5 separate regions of the Homo sapiens genome follow, and regions 2, 3, 4 and 5 are each linked to region 1. Evidence: promoter capture Hi-C in 16 types of primary human blood cells and fetal thymus (Javierre and others, 2016). All regions are on one chromosome and are shown on one strand. Each heading gives the region's core, a stretch centred on a gene start or on the middle of the fragment in contact. The rest is flanking DNA. Distances are from core to core; before and after follow the strand shown.

Region 1 (5,083 bases), core at 2,397-4,896:
TGCCAACATCTCAAGACGCTCAGTTCGTGCGTCTGAGAGTGGGCAGGCTATGAGCTGGGGAGCATAAACAGCAGAGCTGCCCAGCGCTGGCAGCAGTGGCCAAGTCAGTGACTTGCCTTCTATATTTCCTTCCTCCTTTACCCTTGGCATCCTGCTATTCTAATATCTATACACTGGGAGTGATAGAAAAACTAATGGACACAGAAATAATTCATGAGACCTTGAATTTCAGCACTGGAAATGCCGAATTTCAGCTCAACAACTAGAAGACTCTTAAGAAACAGACTGTCTCCATGAACTTGCATTTAGAGGCTTATAGGGCCTGTTGATTTATAAGTCAATAGTGTTAATTGTTAAAGTCTTAAAAACTTCGGGGTCTTCATTTGAAGAGCGATGAATTTATAGAGGGAAAGGAGACAGCCGCAACAGAAGTCTCTTTCACGTGTGACCCCTTCCAATCATTGACTACTGTGAGTGGTCGTCTTTGTTTCGATTTTCAGGGCTACTCTACATTTCTGGTAAACCACAAGCTAAAGGCTGGTCTCTGAGAAGCAGATGTTTTGCTGGTTTTGAGGCCTTGTGGCTTTCCATAGAGAAGTAACAGTACAGGCCACATGAAGCTTTTACTTCCTTTTTTTTTTTTTTTTTTTTTTAAAGTGGGGCCAAGGGTGCTTTTGCTCTTGATAGCATTATATTGACATACATTGACAGCTGTGGTAGGTCTGTGTTCACCACCAGATGTCAAATTCCTATTTCTGGAAGTAATTAGTTTGAGATACCTGTGAAACGTTCAAGTTGAGTGTTCCCAGTGGACTTGGACCATAGATTTAGTCTTAGAAATACCAGTGACAATCTCGAAAGATATTTAGAGCCAAGGGAACAGTGGAGATCATATGGGGAGAGGATATATATAGCAGAAAGCCCTAGGACAAAGCTTTGGGGAGACTCCAGCATTTAGAGGTTGAGTAGAGAATTAGGCCAAGTGGTATGAGCAAAACTAGGAGAGTTTGGCATCATGGAGCAAGAGGTCAGCTCTGTTAGGAGAGTTCAAAATGGACCTTCTGGCTTTCAACAGTCCATTTCCACTGTGACCACCCTAGCCCAGGCCCTCAGCATCTCATGGTTGGTTTCACTTGTCCGGGTGCGGTGACTCACACCTGTAATCTCAACACTTTGGGAGGTCAAAGCGGGAGGATTGCTTGAGGCCAGGAGTTTGAGACCAGCCTGGGCAATATAGTGAGACCTCATCGTTAATAAATAAATAATTTTTAAAGGAGACAAAAAATGTGGTGAGCATCAACTGCCTAGTGTTATATGGAGGCACTAGGTGTAAGATGTAATTATTTTAAGAGTTTATGGACTTTTTGGGTAAGCAGGCCTTATACAAATAAATAAACTAATGAGAGAGTAACTGGACATCTGGTTTCATTTGGGAGTAGGAGAGATTTTGAGGTGAACGTGGAGATGCCTTACCCAGATTCTGGAGTTGAGACAGAGGTCCCCCAGTGTGGGCCAGTTGGCATTACTGGACATCTGGCTGGAAAGGTGGGCAGGGCCAGGATCCTGGAGGGCCTTGAATTCAGGGCTAAGGAGTGTAAACACTGTCCTGCAGAGACCACCATGCTGTTCTTAGGTAGGGGCTAAGGGCCAGATAAAGTGGGACTCAGGATGAAATCTATAGTTGGGAAAAATTCCTTGGCAGAGGCTTTTAAATGGCTGGATGGGGGAGATGGTTAATAGCCTAGTTATTAGGAAAGAGAGATAAAGGTCTGGCCTGGGACTGCCACTAGCATGAGCAGGAAAGGAGGGCGTTGAAAGACACTTTTTTTTTTTTTTTTTTTGAGACAGAGTCTCTGTCGCCCAGGCTGGAGTGCAGTGGCGCAATTTCGGCTCACTGCAAGCTGCGCCTCCCGGGTTGACGCCATTCTCCTGCCTCAGCCTCCCCAGTAGCTGGGACTACAGGCGCCCACCACCATGCCCAGCTAATTTTTTGTATTTTTAGTAGAGACGGGGTTTCACTGTGTTAGCCAGGATGGTCTCGATCTCCTGGCCTTGTGGTCTGCCCGCCTCAGCCTCCCAAAGTGCTAGGATTACAGGCATGAGCCACCGCGCCCGGCTGAAAGACACTTCTTAGGAAGAATACTGAGGACTTTATGATTTGACATTGGACCCGAGAAGAGGAAAGTACAGACTCATAGAAAATGGTAACAGAAAATAGTTACCACTGTAGACGCCTGCCTGCATTTTACAGAGTGTGGCTCTGAGGATTTGAGGGGGCTTAAGTTTGAATTCTGGCTTTGTCTCTGAGGAGTTGATCTAGTTACCTATCTGTGCCTCAGCTTCCTTGTCTGTAAAATGGGGATAATAATTGTACTTCTTCTTAGGTTGTAAAGATTTCGAATTAATATATATGAGGCTCCTGGCATATAGTAGGTACTTAGTAACTATTGGTTGAATGGATGATGTTCAAAGGATTGCATCACAATAAATGGAAGAAACAGGATCTGAATTTGTTTGTCCAACTCTGCCACCTTACCCTGATGTTCCAGAGTCAGCCTTTCTCACATGCTGCCTTTATTGTGTAGGCCTCTTTTACTGGACCTGTTAGATGTCACTTGGTATCAAGCCCACGTTCCGATTGCATGGTCCTGGCGTTCCACAGCCTGGCTCACTCCAGATTGCCCGCCCCAAGTCTGTGTAGACTGTCCCCTGTAACCCACCTCCCATTCTCCACCTCTGACCTTCACGGAGGGCCCGGTCACCAAGCCACCTCCCACCCCTGCAATAGTTGCCCACCCCTTGTGATCTCGCTGATGTCACTGCCTTGGCGAAGGCATTCTGAACTACTACAGACCACTGCAGTCTAGCCTTCTTGGGTCCCTTGCTGCACTGATGAGCTGCACCTCACTTCTTTATGCTTGGCCAGATGACATCTCAGAATGTTCTGTAATGACTTCACACATACTTATCTTACGTGCAAAAATGAATCACAGTTCAGTAAAGGTCCATGGCAACCTTTATTATCTTCCTAGACCCCTCTCAGCTAGGTGCTCAGTAAATACCTGAATACTTGAAGAATGGATTAAGCGGCAGGAATTCTGATTACTGAGGTGGAGTGTGCCAGTAGTTGAGGTCCTCATCTCATACCTGAACTGTGTCAGCAGCCTCTTTAACTGGTCTGTCCCTAATCTACACTTAGGCCACACTGCCACTGGCACAGTCCTCATCCAGTCTTTTCATGGAAAGCTCCAGCTTCAGCCTTTCTGCCAGCCTACAATTAGGAACTCTTCCGTGCGGCCTGAAGGGCTCTCTGCAACCGGATCCTTGCCTGCCTCTTTCGTCTTATCTGCTGGCACTCCATTCTGCACACCCTGTCCTCCTTGCAGTTCCCAGAATGTTCCCTGTGCCTTTTCCTGGCTGACTTCTGCTGGAAGCCCTGCTGGAGCCCACCTGGCAGGCTCACACTCTTCCTTGTCACTTCCTCTAAGACATCAGCAAGCAGAGTAAGTTGCTTCCTCTTCCTAGCTTCACCCACCACCCTTTGTTCCTCTGCTGCTTTTCTTGCAGGCCCTAGGACTGGTTTGTTTACCTGTCTGCCTTCCTGGGCAGACTGCAGCTCCTTGAGGGCAGGGCCATCTTTCCGTGCCGTCTCTCCCGGTGATATGCTGTGTGCACACAGCGTAGGATGCCTGTTGATCATATAAACGATACTTTTGTCAAGTAACAAAGGTCACTCCTCACACTAGAGGAGAGCTTGCTGCTTTCTTGTGCCTTGAGAGATTTTCCCTTCGAACTGTATGAATTATATTGAAAATTGACAATGATGAGTCATATCTCAGCAAGGGTGAAATTCAAAAACGCAAAGCCTCCACTACTGGAGTAGGAGGTTGCAGACTGGTCTTAAAAGGCTAAGTCTGGCCCTTCACTGAATCCGCCTGGCGGGTCTCAAACACAGGGAGTGGGAGGGACCCTCTGCCCGGTGGGCAGGTGATTTATTGGCTGGGAAGCTTCCGCGGTGATTTAGTTGTGAAGCGGCGGCCGGGGAAGTGCAGGCTAATGCCTGGGCCGCCAGGGAGAGGCCGCCCACAATCGCGGGCCGGAAGGGACCGCGGGGGGCGTCGGGGCCAGCCCCCCGTTTCGCAGCTGAGGCGGGGTTGGGGCGGAGGGCGTGCGGCCGGGGCGCAGCCGACTTCGTCCATCCGGAACGTGGGCTGGAGACCCAGCAGCCTGGGAAGGGCCCCAGCCCTGTGGGCGCCCTCTCCCCACGCTTGCTGCGGTAGGGAGGAAGTTTCTGTGCTTTACCGCCTTGATGTTCTCCTGTCCGGAAGGAGGACACAGATTCCAGCGCCGGGTGCCCTGGAGGCTCCGGCCTCGGGGTGGGGGTCGGGCCGGGGGCGGGGCCGGGGCCGGGGCGCGGGGCCCCGGCTGGCGGACAGGAGGGCGGCGGCAATCCAGGCCGCCTTTTGCAGCCGCCCGCGGCCGCGCCGGGCTCTGCGCGCCGCGCTCCTGCCTCCTCCCCCGTCAGCGGCGGCCCCAGCCCCGCGCCCCCCGGGCCCCGCGCCGCGCGGCCCCGCCGCGGTCACACGCCGAGCCACCCGCGGCCGCCTCCGCCCTGCGCTTTGTGGAGCCGGAGCCCAGTGACAGGCGACGGCCTCTTGCCGCCCCGGACCCCGGGCGCTTACCTGTGGCTGCTGGGGTCGGCCGCCCGGGACCAGGCTGGGAGCCCCGAGGTGGGGGCTCGGAGCCAGGAGCTGCCCCCACCGGGGCGGGGAGGGGTGCTCGGGAGGCATGGGACAAAGTGAAAGTCTCCGGGCTGGGGTTAGGGACGAGTCTGCTGCGAAAATGGATGGGGGCGGCGAGTGGCGTCGGGAGGGCGGAAGGGGTGCTGGTTATTCTCTGGTGTCTCGGAGTGGCTTTTAATGACGGACGGTGGGGCAGGCCCGCTGGCTTTCGTGTTCCCGGTGGGCTTCTGTGATACTGGTGCCTTCCGGTGCCTCCTGGCAAATTCTTTGGATTAAGGAAAGCGGCCTTTTAACCCCCTAGGGTTCCCTTCTGGAGAAGAGTCACCGGGTTTGGTTCTGTT
Region 2 (5,608 bases), core at 841-3,340, 240 kb before region 1:
CTAGAATCACACCCAGTTAGAATGGCTCAGACATAGAAAACAGCAAATTGAATTTTGACTGAGACTTGTGTTTTTAGTCAGAGCCAGTTTGCCTTTTATCTTAGACTTAGAGATTCTAAGTGTTTAAAAGAGCTGCTCCGATGAGTTTTGTGGTTCCATTTTTCCTTTGATATAATTTGTACCTGTGGATTAGAAGTGCATTTTGAATGCTTTTGATTTTTTTCTATAGGTGTGAAGTGTAATTGTATTAAGTTAAATATAAAATTCACCCTGTCATTTCCTTTCATCACACGCTGAGAGCTTATGTGCCATGGTTGCAAATTACTTTGAATCTTAGAGCTTTGCAAACTGAAAGAAACCCTGTCCAACTTAATCTACTTTTGAACATGCTATACAGAGATAGTAAGCCTGACCAAGAATTCCTGTATATTAAAGATTACCGTGGTCCAAAGAAGGCTCTCTTTCATTCTCAGCATTACGTGAAATAAAACTCTACTAGTTTAATTGACTGTGTTTTTACAGCTTTAAAAGGTGGTTTTTCTCAGTTGCAGAGGTAAAGCTCATCCTTGTGAATTTCGTAGCCAGATGCACCTTTGTTTGGCTGTAGTGAAGCCTGAGCTTTTTCTTGTTAGTTTGTAATTCAGTTGCTGCTGCTGCTGTGTGTTTGTTTTTAAAACAGCTTTGTTGAGATATAATTCACATGTCATATAATTTACCTATTTAAAGTGTACAATTGGCTGGGCATGGTGGCTTATGCCTGTAATCCCAGCATTTTGGAGGCCAAGGCGGGCGGATTGCTGGAGGGCAAGGCAAGCAGATTGCTTGAGCCCAGGAATTTGAAACCAGCCTGGGCAACACAGTGAAACCCCATCTTTGCAGAATACAAAAAAATTAGCCGGGTGTGGTGGCATACACCTATAATCCCAGCTACTGGAGAGGCCGAGTTGGGGGGGGTATTGCTTGAGCCCGGTAGGTCAAGGCTGCAGTGAGCCGTGATCACGCATGCCACTGCACTCCAGCCTGGGTGACAGAGTGAGACCCTGTCTTAAAAACACAACACACACACACACACACACACACACACACACACACACACACACACACACACAGAGTTGAGTGCATTTTAGAATATTCACAGAAGACAGAGTGAGACCCTGTCTTAAAAACACAACACACACACACACACACACACACACACACACACACACAGAGTTTAGTGCATTTTAGAATATTCACAGATACTGGCAACTATCACCACAATCAATTTTAGGGCATTTTCATCATTCCCAGAAGCAGCCCCATAACCATAGCAGTTACTCTGTATTTACCCTTGCAACCCTAGGCAACAAGTAATCTGCTCTCTGTCCCTATGGATCTGTCTTTTCTGTACATTTATTACAAGTGGAATCATATAGTATCTAATCTTTTGTGACTGGCTCTTTTCATTTAGCATAATGTTTTCAAGGTTCACCCATGTTGTAACATATATCTGTACCTCATTTCTTATTGCTGGATATTTTATTGTGTGTATGTATACTACACTTTATTTACCCATCTGCTTGTGTTTTGCATTTATCTTTTCCACTTGGTTTTCTGTTTACAGCCATGCTTTGGGAAAGTGAGTTTAGGGATTCTTTTCCCCTTTCAAGATCAGGGATTTGGTTTCATCGGCATTTGGCTTCCCTTGCCCTTGGCATTTGTGGACACCAGGTTTTCTCTTTAGTTGTGTGACAGCGGAAGCTTCCACTTGACCCCATGACCAGAGCAGGTCACCTATGAGTAATTCTGTTCCTAGCAAGCTTCAGGACTTGCCAGTAAACAACAGAATTTTCAGGATATTTGATTATGTTCTCCTAATTCACCCTCAAACATCTGTGGAATTACTGTTTCAAGCAATACTTTGAATTTGTCTAGTTTATTTCAGAGAACAAAGAACATGGCAGACTATAGTTTTCGTAATGGTGTTTTATGGATTGCATATTAGTGAAGCATAATTTTGCATGAAGCAACACAGATGCTTAACCCTTTGAAATCTCTGCAATAGGCAAATAATTTGTTTAAAGCAGTAGTTCTCAACTGTGGGCATATTTGCTCCCCAGGGGATATGTGGCAGTATCTGGAGATATTTTTGTAGTTCTCACTGGAGCAGTGGGTTGCGTTGTTAGAATCTGTATGGGTTGAGGCCAGGAATGCTGCGAAATATCCTACAATGCACAGGATAGCCCCCCACAACAAAAAATTATCTGTCCCCAAATGTTAATTGTAGTTCAGTTGAGAAGCCCTGTTTAGAGTGAGCAGTGTATTTCCCTTAACCTGCTGAGTAGAAGAGACACAACTGTTGGCAGTGTACAAGCTAACTGTATATAATTGGAAAAGCTTCACATTTAAAAGTATATGAAAGCAGTTATTTGTATGAATGAGTTTGTGTGGGTTTTGTTGTTGTTGTTGTTGTTTTTTGAGACGGAGTCTTGCTCTGTTGCCCAGGCTGGAGTGCAGTGGCGCCATCTTGGCTCACTGCAACCTCTGCCTCTCAGGTTCAAGCAATTCTCCTGCCTCAGCCTCCCAAGTAGCTGGAATTACAGGCACGTGCCACCATGCCCAGCTAATTTTTTGTATTTTTAGTAGAGATGGGATTTCGCCATGTGGGCCAGGCTCGTCTCAAATTCTTGACCTCAGGTGATCCTCCTGCCTCGGCCCCCCGAACATGCTGGGATTACAGGCATGAGCCACCACACCTAGCCGAGTTTGTGTGTTTTTTAAAGAAAGACAGGATTTTAAATTTTTATTGGAAACCTCCTGGGGCACCTCATCTTTGGGAATTTTTGCTTCAAATAATAAAGATTATATATCGTTTCTTACTTGGTTTTAATTGGGTTGTTAATTGTAGCCTTGAGTTTTGCTGTTTTGGGTACTTTTGCACCCTCTGCAGTGGTCTTGTGTTTTGTTATTAGTATGTCTTTTTGGAAGAAATTGAGAAGCCTTATTTATTAGAGTCTTTTAATCTTAGTTCTCTCAGTTGTTTCCCCAAAGCTCAAAGGAGATGAGGAAGTGCTACTATCAGCATTAAACCCAGTCCTCATTAAAGGGTTTATTTTTTGCTGCCTTCTGCTCTGATACCACAAAGGCTGCTCTTTGAATTTGACCTGGGCATCCCATTGCAGTTATTTAGGTTCCTTAAATAAGCCGTATATTCTGAGAATGAGTATATAAACTCTTAGCAGGATTGATTGAGTTTACTCATTAACCTCAGAGGTAGAGAATCGTGCAGGGGTATATGTAGCTCTTTGCTTATGTGGTTGGTTTGGGTCAGGTGGAAGAACTTTAAAACATGGAAAAACTCTCAATACCACATAACTTTCAGATAAAAAGCTGTTTTATTTCTGTCTGAGTTTGCAGATCTGCTGACTTCATATTTCAGTGATATCTTGCAGCTTCATCTGCAATTCTCTGGCATATTTTGAAGTATTCTCTACATCAGGTTACTGTTTATGAGAATGCCTTACTTCTTATTCAGTGAATACAAGTGTTAGAGTGACATTTCCCTTTCCAGAGCAAAAGCCATTACGTCTTCTTTCCCAGGCATGTTGATATGAAAGGCAACAGGAAAGGAAAATTGATTTCCCTTTGGAAGCAAGTCGCCCAGCTGTAGGGTGCCTGTTTGGTTTTCTGCTGCATGCTGGCTGCAGCTGCTTCTCTTGGAGGCAGGGCTAGCAGAGTAAGATGTTCATGTAGGTCTTCCACACGTGGACTGTCTCCTTGCCTTGTGTTCCTAAAGGAGGATGCTAACACATTTTTTGGATACACAATAAATGCAGAAATGGCACAGGCAAAAGTACTTGAGGTACCTCGGTTCCTTACTTAGGCTCTCAGAGAATATGGATTTGAAAGTAAGTTTGTTTGGCCGACACTAACAACTCTTGGTGGAAAACATCTCCTACTGCCAGATAAGATGAATGTTCCTAGACTGCTCTTTTCATCTCAGTAGCCTGGCAGCACCTTTTTCACTTAACCTACTGTATTGGATAACTCGGCTTTTAAGGCCATGTCATTTAAGGCAGGATGGCTTTGTGGTTAAGCATATAGGCTCTGGAGTCAGCTGCTTGGGTTCATATCCTAGGTCTCACACATAGTTGTGTGAGTTTGGTCAACTTGCTCAGCCTCTCAGTGCTTACTTTTGCATTGATAAGATATACATAACAGTAGTACTGACTGAATAAGGGTATAGCTAGGATATATGACCTGGCTTTCATATGTTTTTCCTGCATGGTTATTTGTTGTGTCTTTTTTCTCTCTCAGATGTATCCAGTTTGGATCATAAATTACATTGTCACCTTTGTTATAGTGAAGATTAAATGAGTTAACATGTGTAAAGTGCTTAGTGCATATTAAGTGCCCAGTGAGTGTTGGCTGCTTTATTATTTTGGGGGCATTCCATTATCCCTTCCACCTGCTCTACTTAAATTTACTTTGTACTGCTCTTTTTCCCCTGTAGCTGCTATTTAACTGAACACTCTCTTAAGTGAAGTTCCTCCCACCTGGACTGTCTTTCGCCTTCTCTTTGCGTCTCCTTATCCTACTCATGGTTTATGAACCAAATCAAGTACCTCTTCAGTTATTTATTCATGAAATATTTTCTTTCCCCAACACAAGTCTCATCATAATGCCCTCTTTACTGATCCAACGTATGTGTGAGAGGGTGGGAAGGAAGAAGAAATAATTTATTATTCCTCTTTCTGTGCCAGGCAGTGAGTTAAGGAATTGGAAATACAGCAAAGGGCAAAAAACAGTCAAGGGTCAGTCCCTCAAGGAACTTCTAGCTGGGAGGTGGAGATAGAAGCTAACCAAATCACACAAGTAAATGTAAAGTTACAGTTGTGGAAAATGCTATGAAGGGAATTTAACCTGTTTTGAACAAGAAAGCTATCCTCAGGACGTTGCTGTTGAGCTATGACTTGAAGGAAGGGTAGGAGGCACCTAGGCCAGACGAAGAGCATTACAAAGGGTAGGAAGAACCTTAGCAAAGGACTCTGGGTAGGAAGGAGTGTGGTGTGTTCTGGGAACTGAGGGAGGGATAGTGTGGCTGGGTGTAGACTGAAAGACAGTGCTGAGAGATGAAGCGAAAAAAGGATAAGCACCTTGCAGATCATGATAAGGATTTGGATTTTTAATGTACCAAAGTGAAGAGTCACTGACGTATTGTAAAGTGGGGATTGACATAATGTCATTAGCCTTTTTAAAGGAACACCCTGGCTGCAGTACAGTAAAATAATTGTAGGAGTTCAGAGGAGTGGATTTGAAGAGACTAATCAAGAACCTGATTCAAGTGGTCCAGGAAAGCCATACTAGTAGATTGAACTAAGATTTGTGATGTTGGAGGTGTTTGGAGGTATAAGTTTGAGAGAAATTTATAAGGTAACAATGAGATAATTTGTTGATGATGGGATGTAGGGATTAAAGAGAGGAGACAGGAGGATTGCTTGAGCCCAGGAGTTCAAGACTAGCCTGGGCAACAAAATGAGACCCTGTCTCTACAAAAAATTTTAAAAATTAGCCAGGCATGGTGGTGCACGCAGAGTATGCCTTTGGTTTGGGCATGTTGAGGTACCTT
Region 3 (5,538 bases), core at 295-2,794, 130 kb before region 1:
GCAAGCTTTTCGGGTCAGCTGATGTTTCACATGGTATCTGTTGCAGTGACTCAGCTCAGCCATTGTGGCATAAAAGCAATAGACAACATGGAAATAAATGAAGTGGCTGGGCTGCAGTAAAACTTGATGGATATTGAAATTTGAGTTTCATTTAATTTTCATGTGTCAGGAAATATTCTTCTTTTGCTTTCTTTTTCAGCCATTTAAAAATGGGAAAACTCTTCTCTCAGGCCACAGGAAGCAGGCGGTGTGCCAGATATGGCTTTTCTGGCCATAGTTTGCCAACTCTGCTGTGGGGTATGGCATGGATGTAGTTAGGTTTGACTTCTTACAGGAATTTAGATGAATTTAGAGAGTTTCTCAGTGTTTTATAAACTTCTTGTGAACTTCCACAAGCTTTGTGTGACTTTTAAGATTGGCTTTCCAAGCTTAAGCTCACTTGCTGAACAAAGGAAGTTAATGCAGGGTTGATTATATTGATGGAACAGTTAAATTGTTACCTGGGACCAGTGACTTAATCCTGGAATATTGTTAGCTGGGACCAGTGACTTAATCCTGGAATATTGTTAGCTGGGACTGGTGACTTAATCCTGGAATATTGTTAGCTGGGACCGGTGACTTAATCCTGGAATATTGTTACCTGGGACCGGTGACTTAATCCTGGAATATTGTTAGCTGGGACCGATGACTTAATCCTGGAATATTTCTTGTCTTTTTTTTTTTTTTTTTTTTGAGACAGGATCTCGCTCTGTTGTCCAGCCTGGAGTGCAGTGGTGAGATTATGGCTCACTGCAGCCTCAAACTCCTGGGCTCAGGCAATCCTACCTCCCCAAGTAGCTGGGACTACAGGTGTGCACCACCACACCTGGCTAATTTTTGTATTTTTCATAGAGATGAGCTTTTACCATCTTGCCCAGGCTGGTCTTGAACTCCTAAACTTAAGCAATCCACCCACTTTGACCTCCCAAAGTGCTGGGATTGCAAGTGTGAACCACCGCACTCAGCCAAATCCTGGAATACTTCTTACACTGGTTTGCATACTCTTTCCTTCCTGTTTCCGTCTTGTCTCACGGGTTGAGGGAAAAGATTTTAATCGATTTAGAGTTTCAGTTGAACAAATATGTGAGATATGTAACTGTATTCAACATGTTTTGACATAAATGCTTAAAATCAACATATTTGAGTACTTATCATTGGTATTGAGATTTGTAGAATCTTTTTTTCTGAGACGGGGTGTTGCTCTGTCACCCAGGCTGGAGCTCAGTGGCTTGATCTTGGCTCACTTTACTGCAACCTCCGCCTCCTGGGTTCAAGTGATTCATTCTCCTACCTCAGTCTCCCGAGTAGCTGGGACTACAGGCATGTGCCACGATGCCCAGCTAATTTTTGTATTTTTAGTAGAGACAGGGTTTCACCATCTTGGCCAGGCTGGTCTTGAACTCCTGACCTCAAGTGATCACCCACCTCAGCCTCCCAAAGTGCTGGGATTACAGGCATGAGCCACCACGTCTGGCCCATTTTTATCTTTAGCATTTTTAGAAGAACAAGTTATCCTAAATAATTCCATCTGATTTCCATGAATTTACTGTAGCTAAGTTTACAATCAGATGTTTCTTGGAGATGTGTAAATGTGTAAGTCACTGTCCTTTCACTGGCCACCACAGCTGGAGTGCTACAGTGGTAATACTTTATCTTCTTTTCACTGGGTATATAATTATAATCCTCATTAATTAGTTTTTTTTTCTCCTGTGGTGTTTTCTTTAAAGTGGTCATAAAAAGTGGTAGCTGCTTTATAAAACTTTTACCTTGAATTTGATTTTGTAAGTGTCAAATACAACATCCTTTTGTGACTTGGATTTTTTTCAAAGACATCAGATGACAGGTGGTTGTTTGGTCACTGAACAAGCTGGCCTAATGGTGCAGTGTCGCGTGAGTGTGTGGATGTGCTGATCCAGTGGTGCAGTGTCACGTGTGTGTGGACACGCTGGCTTTGTGGTGCAGTGTCTCGTGCATGTGGACGCGCTGGCCTAATGGTGCAATTTTACGTGTGTGTGTGGATGTGCTGGCCTAGTGGTGCAATTTTGCATGAGTGTGTGGACGTGCCGGCCTAGTAGTGTAGTGTCACGTGTGTGTGGACGCACTGGCTTAATGGTGCAGTGTCTCATATGCATGTGGACATGCTGGCCTAATGGTGCAATTTTGCACGTGTGTGTGGACGCACTGGCCTAGTGGTGTGTCGCACACGCATGTGTGGATGCACTGGCCTACTTGTGTGGTGTCACGATTGTTTGTGGATGTACTGGCCTAGTGGTGCTGTGTTGCACGCGTATATGTGGACACACTGGCCTACTGGTGTGTCACGTGTGTGTGGACATGCTGGCCTAGTGGTGCAGTGTTGCACACATGTGTGTGGACGAGCTGGCCTACTGGTGTGGTGTCATGAGTGTTTGTGGACTTGCTGGCCTAGTGGTGTGGTGTCACGTGTGTGTGAACGCACTGGCCTAGTGGTGCAGTTTTGTGTGTGTGTGGACGTGCTGGCCCAGTGGTGCAGGGTCACACGTGTGTGTGGACGCACTTCCCTAATGGTGCAGGGTCGCGTTGCTGTCACTTAGTGATCCGGCCTCGCTCTTGGCAGCAGCGCTCACTGTGAAAGAAGCTTTGCCTGTCCCATTACTCCCATAAAACAGAATGGGATGGCAGTGCCCCCCAGCAGTCTCTGTTTGTTCTCTTTCTCTTCACGAAGGTAGATTAGCTTAAAAAATGTTTGGGGTGTATTTGGTGGGGGATGGTTAAAGTTAAGCTTTACCTTTTTTTTCCAATTTTCTTCTCATAGTTTATTCACAGAAATAATTTATTCTTTCTCCATAGTTATAAACCAGTACTACTAAAAATAAATTCAATTTTGAGAGAGATACAAATAAAATAGTCTGTGGGCACATGAAAAGGGATCAAACAAATGTAATGAAAAAAACCATGGGGAACAAAAAAGAAAAAAGAAAAAGACTGATCATGTTAGTGCTTAGCACCATTCTTCTTGAAGATCAAAGGGCTCGGTTGTGTGGTTTCATCCGGTCACAGTAACTCTGAGGGGGCTCTTGCCATTCCATTCACTCAGGAGGAAACTGATGTATAAGGTTTGCTTTCAAGCTGGTGCTAGAGTTGGGTTATAAAGGAGGAGAGAGAGCTTTATCCTTTAGCCATGGTGAATCAAAAGGAAAACAAAATGCCCTGTAGTTTCTTTGTAAATTGTGAGATTATAGCTTTTTCCTACCAGAGTTTCTTCCTATAAGAAAATCTGAGCCCTTCGCAGTTGTAGAAATGTGTGTTGAAGTTCAGCATTACTGCATTGCTGTTAGTTTTGAATTCTTGACCTTAGCTATCCCTTATCTCTACCTTTCAAGGTAAGTTTCTACAGCTGCTGATCTTATTTCATCACACTTTATCCATAACCACCATAGAGTAAAGTTAGCATTTTGAATATTTTTTGAGTTCTGTTTATTCCCGGGTAAGAATTTTTGGCTGGCATTGTGGTATAATAGACTGAAGTTAGAGGACTTGTGTTTGAGTCCTGGCTCTGCTGTAGCCTTGTGGCCAGTGTCACGTTTTTTAACGTTTGAGCTAACCTTTGACAAACTTGTTCAAGGTCACATGACTAATGACAGAATCCTGAACCAAACACACACATCTGGTTCCACATCCAGTATGGTAAGGAGTGTGAAAGTCCCTCAAAGAGCATCTCAGGCCCTAGTAACATGTGTAGTACACTCCATAGCTCATTGAATTTCTGCTGAGTTCTTAAAAGTATAAGTGGAAGAAAAGAAAAAGTGAAATTAAGTGTAATTTTGTACTGAGTTAATGATGGTGTAATCACTCAGCATACACTTATTTTACTATTTCTCTGTGGCCTGTTGGCGGAGGAGGGATTAGATATTTAGATTCCTTCAGGTATATGGAGAAGAGTTCAGCTTAGGGAGCTATCTCAACACACTCCAAGAACGAGCAGATAAACTTGTAACTTGTAATTTGTTTTCTGTGCTACTTTTTCTCCCCTAAGGATAATGTTTTATTAAGGATCCAAGGATCTGGAGTGATTGCTTTGTGATTGGACTGAGGACATGTGACCTGGGGAACATTCTTGGGTTTATTGTGTACTCGCATCAGTGCATTCTCCAGTATTGATTGTGGAGGGCAGCACAGGAGATCGTAAGTGTCTTGCTGACTGAGGACTGTTTTCCAGCTTTCTGATTACCTGCTTCCTATTTGGAGGAGTCACTTGGGGAAAGAAATATCCTACTGCAGGTCAGGTTATAGGCTGTCATTTTACCCAGGGGCTCCTATTATAGGAAGATGCTTTAGGATGAATTTTCTGGAAGACCAGGGCCAAGGAGCCCTAAATTAGCTGTTTGAGGCTTCCAGTCTGTTTCTTTTCATTATAAATTAATTTATCTCCCTACTTTGTTATGAGCAACTAGGTTCATGTATATGTTTAGGGCTTGAAACAGATTAGTCACATCTGTGGACAGTTTCCCAACCATTCCTTAAAACATTTAAAAATCCTTTAGTGGCCGGGCACGGTGGCTCACGCCTGTAATCCCAGCACTTTGGGAGGCCAAGGTGGGCAGATCACCTGAGGTCAGGAGTTCAAGACCAGCCTGGCCAACATGGCAAAACCCCGTCTCTACTAAAAATACAAAAAATTAGCCGAGTGTGGTGGCTGGTGCCTGTAGTCCCAGGTACTAGGGAGACTGAGGCAGGAGAATCGCTTTAACCTGGGAGGCAGAGGTTGCAGTGAGCCAAGATCGTGCCACTGCACTCCAGCCTGGGTGACAGAGCGAGACTCTGTCTCAAAAAAAACAAAAAACAACAACAACAACAACAACAAAAAACACCCTTTAGCTCCTGCAAGTTCTGTAAGGAGTTTCATGGTGTCTCAGAGCTCTTAGTTTTGCAGTTTAAGAATCCTTATCTGGCTTTAATCTACAGTTGTTTTTATATGTGAAATAACTTTGACCTACAGCATTTTTATTGTTTTGTCTATACATGCTTAGTACTTCATTAGACATCATAACCTGTCAATTGCTTTATTTATTCATTCATCATTTAACACTTTTTATTAATCTACTAGTAGATGAAGGGCTCTATATTTGGTGATGGGAACCTACCCAGTAAGATATTCCGTCTGCCCTTGAGTACTTCATAGTATTTGAAAAACTTTCTTTTATTTGGAGCTATTTTTAGACACACAGCAAAGTTACAAGTACTCAGGTTCAATATATCCCTCCCCTAACCTCCCACAATGTGAACTTCTTCTACAACTATAGTACAGTTATCAGAACCAGGGAATTAACATTGATACAATAGCATTAGACTAAAGATTCTCTTTGATTTTCAGCAATGTCCTCGTTGTTGTTCTAGGATCTTATATGGGATCCCACATTGCATTTAATTATTTCTCCTTAGTCTCCTGCAGTGTGTAATGGTTCTCCAGTCTTTCCTTACCATTCATGACCTTCCTTGGTATTGTAAATATTATTGATC
Region 4 (5,284 bases), core at 242-2,741, 150 kb before region 1:
TTCTTTACATTTCAATCTTTGACCCATTTAGACTCATTTCAGATCATTTTGAATCATACAGTATGAGGTATAGATACAACTTAATTTTTTTTAGATGACTTTCTAGGAATCTCTACAAACTCATTAAATAGTTCATCTTTCCCTGCTATTCTGTAATTTAATCTTTATTATGGACTAAATTCCTGAAACTAATTTTTAACTGGCTGGCATTAACATGCTTTTATCCTTACAGTTACATGTAACTTTCTTCTTATTTACTGAGTTTTAACTCTGATTGTTTGTCAAAATGGCTTTTAGTGACCACTGCCTATGGTTACATATTTTTATAATTGGCACTAAAATTTATTTCTCCAGTCTTTTATCTAACCCACCCCATGCCTATAGAAAAGGTGCAGGTACAACACAGAGAACTTTTTTTTTTTTTCCCTAGAACCACTGGAGAATAAGTTGCCAAATAAATACCCCTTTACACACTGATACATAATGGATGTGTGTTTCTTACAAGGACATTTTCTGATGTAGCCCTCAAGTCAACAATCAAACCTAAAAATTAACATTAATAACATTATTACTGTCTAATCCTCAGACCCTGTACACATTTTGGCTTTTGTTTCAATGCCCTGTGTAGGGAATGGATCTAATCAGAATTATAGGTTATATACTTAGTTATGTTTCTTTAATCCTCTTCATTTTAGAACAGTTCTTCAGTCTTCCCCTGATTTTCATGACCTTGACACTTTTGAATATTGCAGTTCAGTTACATTGTAGAATGTTTCTCAGTTTTCATTTGTATCGTATTTCTTCATTATTAGATTCAGGTTTGGGATCTTTTCCTTGTACCCTGCCAAGTAGGGCACAATTTTGGTTCCTTCTGTTACTGGCATTCACTTTGATCACTTAAGATTGGGTTTACAAGGCCCAAAAGTTAATTATAAAGTTATTTCTTTGAGGTGGGCACAATGGCCCAAGTCTAATCCCAGCACTTTTGGAGGCCGAGGTTGGGGGATTGCTTGAGCCAGCAGTTAGCGACCAGCCTGGGCAACATAGTGAGACACTGTCTCTGCCAAAAAAAAAAAAAATATATATATATATATATATATATATATTAAATTAGCCAGGTGTGGTGGCACAGGCCTGTAGTCCTAGCTACTTGGGAGTCTGAGAGTGGGATGTTGAGGCTGCAGTGAACTGTGATTGCACCAGTGCACTCCAGCCTGGACAACAGCAAAACAGTGTCTTTAAAAAAAAAAAAAAAAAGGTTACTTTTTTCATCCTTTGTTATCAGTTAATATTTTATGGAAAGGTGCCCTGTGACTCTGAAAGTGTCCGGTTATTTAGCAACTATTCACTTTATTCATTTACCTATATCAGCAAGGATGCACGATTTCTGGTTTTCTTTGTAGTTTCTACTCTATTACTAACATTATGTGTTGATTCTCAAGTTGTTCTAGCAGAACTAGTCCAGCAGGTCTGTCCTTTCAGGCTGAGTTTCGCGTGTCTTTCACATTCTTTGAGCACTTTCTTACTTTTTGGTATAAGTTGTTTTAGGGTTCTCCTCCTCAGAGGCAACAATTGTTGCCAGCTTCTTGTATCTTTCCAGAGATACTTCATGTGCATACGTGTTAATGTGTATATGTGTATGTAAATTTTAGCATTTGCGAATTAGACTTTTAATTTTAGAAAGATGTTAATTTTTAATTTCATAAATTAGACTTAATTGAAGTCTAATATATATTCATGAAAGAACATTCTAAATAGAAAGCTCAGTGAATTTTCATATAGTGAACACATCTGTCTAACTTCTGGTATCAAGAAATAAAATGTGTGCACTCCAGAGGTTACCCTCGTGCCCTCTCCTAGCCACTAACTGCGTAACTACTGCTGTGAGCTCTGCCATCACAGATTAGTTATGTCTGTCTTCGTACTTCGTATATGAAGGGAATGAAATGCAATATATATTTGTTCGTGTCTGATTTTTTTGGCTTAGCATGTTTGTGAAATTCATGTTTTTGTAAGTTGCAGTATTTTCATTTCTATATAATATTGCAGGTGGATCATGAGGTCAGGAGATTGAGACCGTCCTGGCTAACATGATGAAACCCTATCTCTACTAAAAATACAAAAATATATTAGCCGGGCGTGGTGGCGGGCGCCTGTAGTCCCAGCTACTCGGGAGGCTGAGGCAGGAGAATGGCATGAACCCGAGAGGCGGAGCTTGCAGTGAGCCGAGATCGTGCCACTGCACTCCAGTCTGGGCGACAGAGCGAGACTGCGTCTCAAAAAAAAAAAAAAAAAAAAAAGACTATATATAGATCATAGTCTTAACATATTTCAGAGCATTGAAATCATACAGAACATGTTCTGTGACCATAGTGCTACTAAGCTAGGAATCAAGACCAAAAGGAGTACCTGGGAAATACACAGATGTGTAGAAGGAACCCAGATTCTTCTAAATAGTCTGTGGGTCAAATAAGAAATCACAGTGGAAATTAGAAAATATTTTGCAGTGAATTATTAATGGAAATACAACACATTGGTTGGGCACGGTGGCTCATGTCTATAATCCCAGCACTTTGGGAGGCTGAGGAGGGAGGATTGCTTGAGCCCAGGAGTTTAAGACCAGCCTGGGCAACATGGTGAAACCCCATCTCTATAAAAAGTACAAAAATTAGCTGGGCGTGGTGGCATTTGCTTGGAGTCCCAGCTACTCAGGAGGCTGAGGTAGGAGGAGAGCTTGAGCCCAGGAGGTCAAGGCTGCAGTGACCTGTGATTGGGCCACTGCACTGCAGCCTGGGTGAGAGTGAGACTGTCTCCAGAAATAAAAGGCAACACATCACAGTTAATGGCTTTATCTAAAACCATGCTTAGACATAAACTTTTTTAGCCTTTAATATATATTTAAATTACTTAGTAAGACACTGTGAACAACATTTTACCAATACCAAAATTTGAACACTTAGCTGTGATACCAAACATTCAGAGTAATCGAAATAATTTGAATAGAAAAGTTTTATGTGTGAAAACATATATAGGAATACTTATTACAACCAAGGTTGTAATGGTGGAAAACTGGAAATGACCCAAATGTCTACTATCAGGAAAATGTATGAACACATTGTGATGTGCTGTATATGAAGGTAATACATGTCACTTAAAATAAGTGAACTAGGGCGTGGATGGATCATGTAAGTGTAATGCTGAAAGAACAAAGCATATTATAGAAGAACTCAAAGAGTCTAGTGTCATTTATGTACAGTATAAAAACATGCAAAATAATACCTTATGTATTTTTAGTTATATATATATATTAAGTAAAAGCATGAAGTACTGGATGGGAATGATCAGTGAATTCAAGGTGGTGGTTACCTCTGGGCTGTAGGCAGGTTCCACAGGCAGCTTCTTTAGGTTCGATAATGTTTTTGTTGCTTTAGGTATGTTTGGTACAGATGGTTCTGTTATTTTTATACCTTTCTGCCTGTCAAATATTTCATAATAAAACTTTAAAAAGAAAAATAAGAAAGATAAAGCAAGAAAGTAGAGCCACCTTTGGGAGTTTTCATGAACACGCTCAGGATAGCAAGCAAGCAAGACATTTAGGTTTCCTCCTAGGTCCTGTAGGTAGAGAAACTGGTGTATGGAATCATTAGGGTTATTTAAACCTGTCTCTGTATATGACATATCAGGTCACAATACAGTTTTTCCTGCTATCCTGAAGTACTTTTGAGAAGACCACTAATTTTAAGGAAAATAATATCCAAAGAGATTAAATAACAGTGTAAATAAATGTTACTTGCCTAGGATTTATGGTTACTAAGTGGCAGATTTCATTCATCATAACTTTCTAAAAGCACTTAACCGTTATTGGACATTTTAGAGGAGAGGGTTGGGGGAATTGGTAAGGGGTCTTCTCCTCCATTGGAATGGAAGTTCTACCAGGACTGGGACTTCCTGTTTTTCCCACTTCTATATACTCAGCAACCATCTCCAGAACAGTGTCTGGTGCCTAGCAGATGCCCAATAAATATTCCTTATATAGTTTGAGGAAAGTATATCTCAGATCTAATTTGAAATTATTTTTGTTTATTTTTATATCACTTGTCGCTAAAACTGTTGTATGTTCTAGGAATTTCCTGAGACCATATTACCTCTTAGCCCAGAAGTTTTATCTAGCCGATTACTTGATTTAAAGATCATGGGATTCCTGTCTGTAGTATTCTCTAGCAATAGATAGAAGAGTCACAGCAGACTCTGAATTGTTTTTCTCCATATTAACTTCTCTGTGTGCTAAAATGGAGGAAGGAAGTTAGATTAGAATGTTGCTTTTCTGGCAACACTGGCACCCAAAGCCTTTTCATCACAGCAAATGTTGATTCTGTAATGGAAGTTGGTCTTTTTGTGGTAATGGGAATGTTGCCTATCTTGATTTTGGTGGAGGTTACACAACTCTATACATTTGTCAAAACTAGTAGAAACAAAATAAGTTAATTTTATTGTGTGTATGTAAATTATACCTCAATAATTAAGATAAACTGAAATAAGAAACAAAGCCCAAAAGTTGGAACTTGTTTTTGAAAAAAGATGACAAGAGATTTTAAAGGAAGGGGTCTTACTGCAGAAGATATGAACATTTCCGTATGTTGTTGTTGGTGCTTGAACGTGATGCAGAATCTTTTTGACAAAAATTACCCTATTTTAAAATGAATTGTGGCTCCAGTCACATGCTCTTTGATTTTCTTTCTTTCTTTTTTAAAGCAGCATTTTCCCAGCTCAGCTCACACTTGACTGAATACACTGATCGATTATTTGGAGATTAACTAAGGCTTCTCATTTCCTGCTTTCCATTTCTCCTCTCCAGCAGGCCAGTGGGCCTTTGTTGTCTGGCATGTGCACCAAGATAAGCTATCAGGGCATGTTTGTATTAGAAAAATGTTTGTAGATGGAACGGTTATAAATAGACTAACTAGTATTAAAGGTTACCGTCTTTGTTTTGGTTTAAGTTAAAGGAAGAGAAGAAATAATTAAGATATTTAAGATAAGACAGACTGATTTACGTAAACCAGGAAAATATAATTTTTTAGTGTTCCTGCTGATTTTCCCTTTTCTTATCCAACTATTTGAATTTGTTTATTGGTAAGTTGCTGGCTGTACTTGGATTCCTATTATGCAGGCCAACTTTTGAGTCAGTAATTTCTAAAACTGTGTCTCTAGTGCTTCTTAAAAGTGCAAATATTTGTGTTGCTAAAAATTACTTTACTGTGTTACCAACTCTACACTCAGGGTTTAA
Region 5 (5,526 bases), core at 1,635-4,134, 220 kb before region 1:
GGTCCTAACATTTAGCTACTGCGTCTTCACTGAGGTCTGTGGAGGCTGCAAGTGGTGTCACATCCTTAGTTCTCTGAATCATCGAAAGCTTCTGTAAGGCAATTAATTACTCAGACAAACATTTCCTTCCCAAAATAAAACAAAACCAAGATGTGGTATTTGGTGTTCCAGGGGACACACACACACACACACACACACACACACACACACATACATATTTTAAATAGAAGCTCATTTGATCTGTAACTTTTTATCTACATCTCAATATTTAGAAGAATTTTAGGTATTAATAGATGTGACATGCAAATGAAGGTGTCTTCTTGAAACATTCATATTTTGTGGTGGGGTAGTTTTATTGATAATGGCAAGAATATTTTTGTGTAACATAGCATAAAGGCATCTTTAGGCAGAGCTTAATGTTTTTTTTCCGACATGTGACAAATTCAGTTGCACTTATTAGACCTATTATTAATCTGCTTAAAGCTTTTCAGTGTATTCCCTGTTCACCAGCAGGTTTGTTCCCAGAACCTGGCACTGTAGACCCTCTGTGACCTAGTTGCCTATCTGCACAATCATCTTTAATGTTATTTAATCAACGTTAATCTTATTTGGGAGGAAACACAATGTGGCTGTGTGTTAGTATGTTAGGGATGCTGTGGCTGTATAACAAATGGAGTGGCTTAAACAACAGAGGTATGTTGTCTTACAGTTCTGGAGGCCACACATCCAACAGCAAGGTGTTGGCAGGGTCGTGTTACCTCTTTTTCATTTCTTTTTGAGACAGGGTCGCCCAGGATGGTGTGCTATGGCATGATCATTGCTCACTGCAGCCTCAATCTCCTGAGTAGCAGGGACTATAGGCATGCATTACCATGCCTGGCTAATTGTATTTTTTGTAGAGACAAGGTTTTGCCATGTTGCCCAGGCTGATCTTGAACTCCTTGGCTCACACTATCCGCCCACCTTGGCCTCCCAAAGTGCTGGGATTTCAGGCATGAGCCACTCCACCCAGCCTCATGTTACCTCTGAAGGCACCAGGGAAGGATCTGTTTCAAGCCTCTGTCCTTGCTTACAGTAGTTTGCTGCTTTGTGGCAGCGTAGTGGTGATCTTTCATAGCATTCTCTTTGTGTACATATCTCTGTGTCTATCTACATTTTTCCTTTTTGTAAGGATGCCAGTCATATTGGATTAGGGCTCACCTTACTTAATGTTAACTAATCACACCTACAGTGTAATTATATTTTCATGTGTCCTTATTTTAGTTACATTGGCAATGATGACCCTGTTTTTTTTTTGTTTGTTTGTTTTTTTTTGAGTGGCGGGGAAGGGTCTCACTCTGTTGTCCAGACAACAGTGCAGTGACATGAACACGGCTTACTGAAGCCTTGAACTCCCGAGCTCAAGTGGTCCTCCTGCCTCAGCCTCTCAAGTAGCTGGAACTACAGGTGCACGGCACTGTGCCCAGCTAGTTTCTAATTTTTTTTTAGAGAAGGGATCTTGTTTTGTTGTCTAGGCTGGTCTTGAACTCCTGGACTCAAGCCAGGAGTCTTGCCTCAGCATCTCAAAGTGTTGAGATTACGGGCATGAGCCACTGTGCCTGGCCTTACCTGTTCTTTAATAAGGTCACATTCTGAGCTATTGGGAGTAAAGACTTCAACATACGAATTTTGGGAAGGACAAACTCATCCTGTAACAGGCAGGAAGAGCTTTGTTGTTAGGTAGACTCAGGTTCAGGTGTTTCACATTTGAGAGCTTTGTTGTTAGGTAGACTCAGGTTCAGGTGTTTCACATTTGAGTGACATCTCCTCAGTTCTCTTAGTTGTATGTCTTTGGAACAGTTGGGAAAATGTAGTTCTTATTTTCAGTCACATTATAGTGAACTTTTAGTTATGGATTACATTAGTTAACTTTTAATTTCTTCTGTTTCTTTTGAAATTTTATTTCATCTTTTAGTTGATTGCCTTTTCATGTATATTAGGAAGTTATTCAAATTCCACGTATGTGAAAGACAATTCTTTAGCACATAAAAACTTATTACTTCGTGAGGATAGAGGAAAGAGAAAATACTAAAGTTATTCTAATTAGAGAAATGGGAAGTGATATTTGAGACAAATTAATCATATCTTTTTTGATTTTATAGGGAAAGGATCATTAAGTATCATGAAACCTGTACTGTAGTTGTTCTCTGCACCAAGCATTGGCCACAGATTGGCATCCCATGGGAGTTGGTTAGAAATGCAGAATCTCAGATTCCGCCCCCAATCTGCTGAATCAAAATCCATGTTTTATATAATAAGATGTCCAGGTGATTTAAACACACGTTTAGATTTGAGAGTCACTAATCACTCATTAGTGCTTCCCAGTCTTTTTCAAGCTAACGCAGATATAAAATGAGTCCATTGCATGAGGTGAGAGGATTAGTACCCAGCATGCTTGTCACTTACCTGTGGCAGACTACAAATTAGGCAGATCAAAAATTAGAGAAAAAATATGTGATTTCATGGCTTGAGATTTTGACGTTAAAATATGATGCATGCAGTTCAAGAAGAACAGAGGTGGCTGCAGAATTACATTCTGGCCAAATTATTGGGAATAATTTGCATCTTCTAAAGTGCCTGATTGCAAAGGGCACTGTGAACTTGGCTGTAAATAGTAAGGGAGCTACAACATGGGTGACAACCAGTTTTAAAGCACCTTCTATCTACTGGATTTGCTTTGAGTGTGTAATTTCTAGTCCTTAGAAAATTCCTATACAACCTAGACATTGTTTCCCTGCTGTACAGATGAGGAAACAAAGACATGGAGGCCAAAGTCACACAGCTGGTTTGTAAAATGGTATGGGCCTGTGAGAACTGGTTAAAGCCAAGAATGAACGGACATTTGCATAAAACCCTGAAGAGAATACAAAAAACAAATAACCTGTGTGGAAGAAAAAAGAAGAGATAGACTGATTTCTTCGAAAATGCAAGTGATATAATTACTTTGCTCTTTTTCTCTTTTCTCCTTTTACTCCTAAAATTATTTATAGCTCTCCTGTTGCCAAAAATTGTATGTCTAGTCAGGCACAGTGGTGAGCATCTGTAGTCCCAGCTCCTCAGGAGACTGAGTTGGCAGGATCACTTGAGCCCAGAAGTTTGAGGCTAGCCTGGGCAACATAGTCCATAAGGAAACTATGGGAAGTAAGCTGAGAAGGTGAGTAGTAAATTGTTCAAGAATACATAGGCTAATGGTGATTACTGGATTTTGAACCCTAAGTAACTGAAAGAGAAATACACATTTTTCTATGATCTAATAAAAAGCAAGCATGTTGTATGCATGAAAAGTTTTTTGATGCAAGGTGGTGTACATTGATCACATAACACAAAGGGCAATGTGTTGTTAGAGTGGCTCACATAATTACAGGCTTCCCCCATAATGGTTGGGAAGCTGGAAAAAAGCCTCCAAAACCTACTTGGAACGAGAGCGTTCAGGTACTTGGTTGGCGGGAACTACTGACCGTTCCAACCACATGCTATAACTGGAATAGGGCCCTTCAGGATCTTCCTGTCCTTGCTGTCACTCAGCTCAAGATTCACAGTTCCAAAAGAGTAAATATAGTATGTCTACCTTGAATTGCATGCACATGTCTTGTATAAAAAAAGACAGAAACCTGGATTGATTGCTTTCCCAAGCCTGCACATGATGGGGCTAAAGTTATTCCCCACAATGAGCTTGGGAAGCAGTTTGGTAGGGGAAATAGATGTGGGCTGGCCATGAGACCTTGTTATTGCATATGGATATTTAGCAATAGTTTGTTTTGCTTTGTGTGTGATAGGTAAGTAAATAGAACAGTGAGGTCAATAGAATGTGCACTTTATGCTGGTTCATGTGCAACTTTTGCTAGGCAAGAGGAGTGTGACCAGATGGAATAGAATTATAATATATACTTTAATGGTATAATGTGGGATTGTATTTTAGCAGGAAAGGAAAAAAATAGGTGAGAATTTAAACTTTCACTCTGGCTGTTGCATCAGCAGGAGCTTTCTCATTTCTATTGAAAATGAAATGAAAAATGAACACCTGTCCCCTGGGGTTCCCTCCCCAGAGAGGCACACGCTAACATTATGCTCTGTGGCAGGTTGCCCTGTCTGCTGTGCTCACCTTCACAAAAACCCCCAGATTACTGCATTGTTTTGGTGCCTTCAAGCCAGCATCTGTTGTTTTCATGTATTCTCAGTATCACCTTTGGCAGCGTGCAGCCACTCTTGGGTAACTGCCTGGGTTTCTTATTTCTTAAGTATTGATTTTTAACAAAATAGCCATCTGATTTCAGAGTTGCATAGGGTTTGAGTAGTCTGCTTTTTACCCTGTATTTTACGTAAGTCCTTTCATTTTTAGTGAACATTTTTGCTGAATATGTGGTCTTCCCAGTAACATATATTGTGTTATAGCAGAAATATCTACATAAGAAGCAGTGAACCACAGTGTGTTCAAAAACTGTGTTCCAGAGGAAACAGAAATGTTCTTTAGGTGGCTGTTTAAAAATTGGGCTCAATAATGAGCAAAAACATGTTGAAAGGTCAATCTTTGAAGGTATTTTTATGAGCAATTAATGATCAGATTCAGGAATGCAGCCTGGTGATGACCTACTCATGGATTCCACTCTTCTACCTCTTAACTTTCCACCTTCCTGGGGCCAATTGATCCAGAAATTGTTTGAGCCCACTAGGATTTTCAATTCTTGGATCCCCCCACCTTTCACAGTCACTCACACCCATGGCATCTTCCATTTCCATTTCTGTTGTGTGTCTTTTTCCATGCTGGTTGGTTCCAGCAGGACAGGGATCTTTTTCCCCGATGTATCCCAGGTACTTGGAAAAGTGTCTAGCACATTCTAGGCACTTACTCATTCCCTAGATACCTATTAGCGCAGGCAGAGTTAGCTGCTAGATGTGAGTGCTTAGCCCTAGGTGCCTCTCTTGGGTAGCATTGTCTCAGCTGTTCTTCCTTTAGCAGTTGAGTAGGAGACATGTGCACAGAGCAGTTGATGGGAGGACTTTTTGGGAAGAGTCCTTAAGATTGATATTTATATGCAGAAATGACTGTCCAGAAGGTTTACCTAGGTTTAAAAAAATTGATATTCAATTTGTTAAAGTTGCAAATTGAAGGACACTGTTACACTTTTTAAAAAATTCAGCTTATAAATCTCATTTATAAATTAAACATTTTAATCACTTTTAAGGGATTTTGAATTACAAATTAGTCTTGTTTATAAACTCGTTAATATCTTCAACATTTAAGCTTGCCTTTACTAATTTAATATTTGGTTTCTATTTTTAAAAAGTCTATTAACACAAACCTCAAGTACTTAACTCTTCTTATAAGTTAATTAGACTTACAAGTGAAACAGCCCTAAAAAATTCTCTTAGATGTTTCAGTGTTGTGCATAAACTTCCTTAGGTTTCATCTTGACCACAAATCTGAATCAGTTACACAGAGGGAGAAAGGACAGCATAATCTAGTACCCCACTGCTGGTGGGTTAACG

Evidence for each region. Contacts are between HindIII fragments. The CHiCAGO score rates a contact against its expected background, and 5 or more counts as called.
Region 2: a fragment that was not itself captured here is called in contact with the fragment with the promoter of RERE-AS1 in region 1 in 3 of 17 cell types (total B cells, endothelial precursors and naive B cells); the score reaches 6.7 in total B cells.
Region 3: a contact is called between a fragment that was not itself captured here and the fragment with the promoter of RERE-AS1 in region 1, in 2 of 17 cell types (naive B cells and activated CD4 T cells). The highest score is 5.7, in naive B cells.
Region 4: a contact is called between a fragment that was not itself captured here and the fragment with the promoter of RERE-AS1 in region 1, in 1 of 17 cell types (naive B cells). The highest score is 5.3, in naive B cells.
Region 5: a fragment that was not itself captured here is called in contact with the fragment with the promoter of RERE-AS1 in region 1 in 1 of 17 cell types (total B cells); the score reaches 5.8 in total B cells.

Annotation. Positions count from the first base shown.
Region 1 is chr1:8,423,208-8,428,290 of GRCh38, reverse strand. It overlaps RERE-AS1 (RERE antisense RNA 1), which reads right to left and starts at 3,646. Exons shown (of 4, transcript NR_125999.1): 1 at 3,590-3,646. The region is part of intron 11 of RERE (arginine-glutamic acid dipeptide repeats); the gene reads left to right. RefSeq lists an enhancer at 289-528 and silencers at 4,057-4,196, 4,507-4,846. The HindIII fragment of the contact is 3,073 bases long and covers 937-4,009 here.
Region 2 is chr1:8,664,526-8,670,133 of GRCh38, reverse strand. All of the region lies in intron 1 of RERE (arginine-glutamic acid dipeptide repeats), which reads left to right. Among named protein-coding and RNA genes, the nearest start is that of RERE, 150 kb to the left of the region's middle. The HindIII fragment of the contact is 577 bases long and covers 1,802-2,378 here.
Region 3 is chr1:8,549,873-8,555,410 of GRCh38, reverse strand. The region is part of intron 6 of RERE (arginine-glutamic acid dipeptide repeats); the gene reads left to right. Among named protein-coding and RNA genes, the nearest start is that of SNORD128, 58 kb to the right of the region's middle. The HindIII fragment of the contact is 2,228 bases long and covers 431-2,658 here.
Region 4 is chr1:8,571,357-8,576,640 of GRCh38, reverse strand. The region is part of intron 4 of RERE (arginine-glutamic acid dipeptide repeats); the gene reads left to right. Among named protein-coding and RNA genes, the nearest start is that of SNORD128, 79 kb to the right of the region's middle. The HindIII fragment of the contact is 8,245 bases long and covers 1-5,284 here.
Region 5 is chr1:8,642,327-8,647,852 of GRCh38, reverse strand. All of the region lies in intron 2 of RERE (arginine-glutamic acid dipeptide repeats), which reads left to right. Among named protein-coding and RNA genes, the nearest start is that of SNORD128, 150 kb to the right of the region's middle. RefSeq lists a silencer at 4,075-4,204. The HindIII fragment of the contact is 4,798 bases long and covers 486-5,283 here.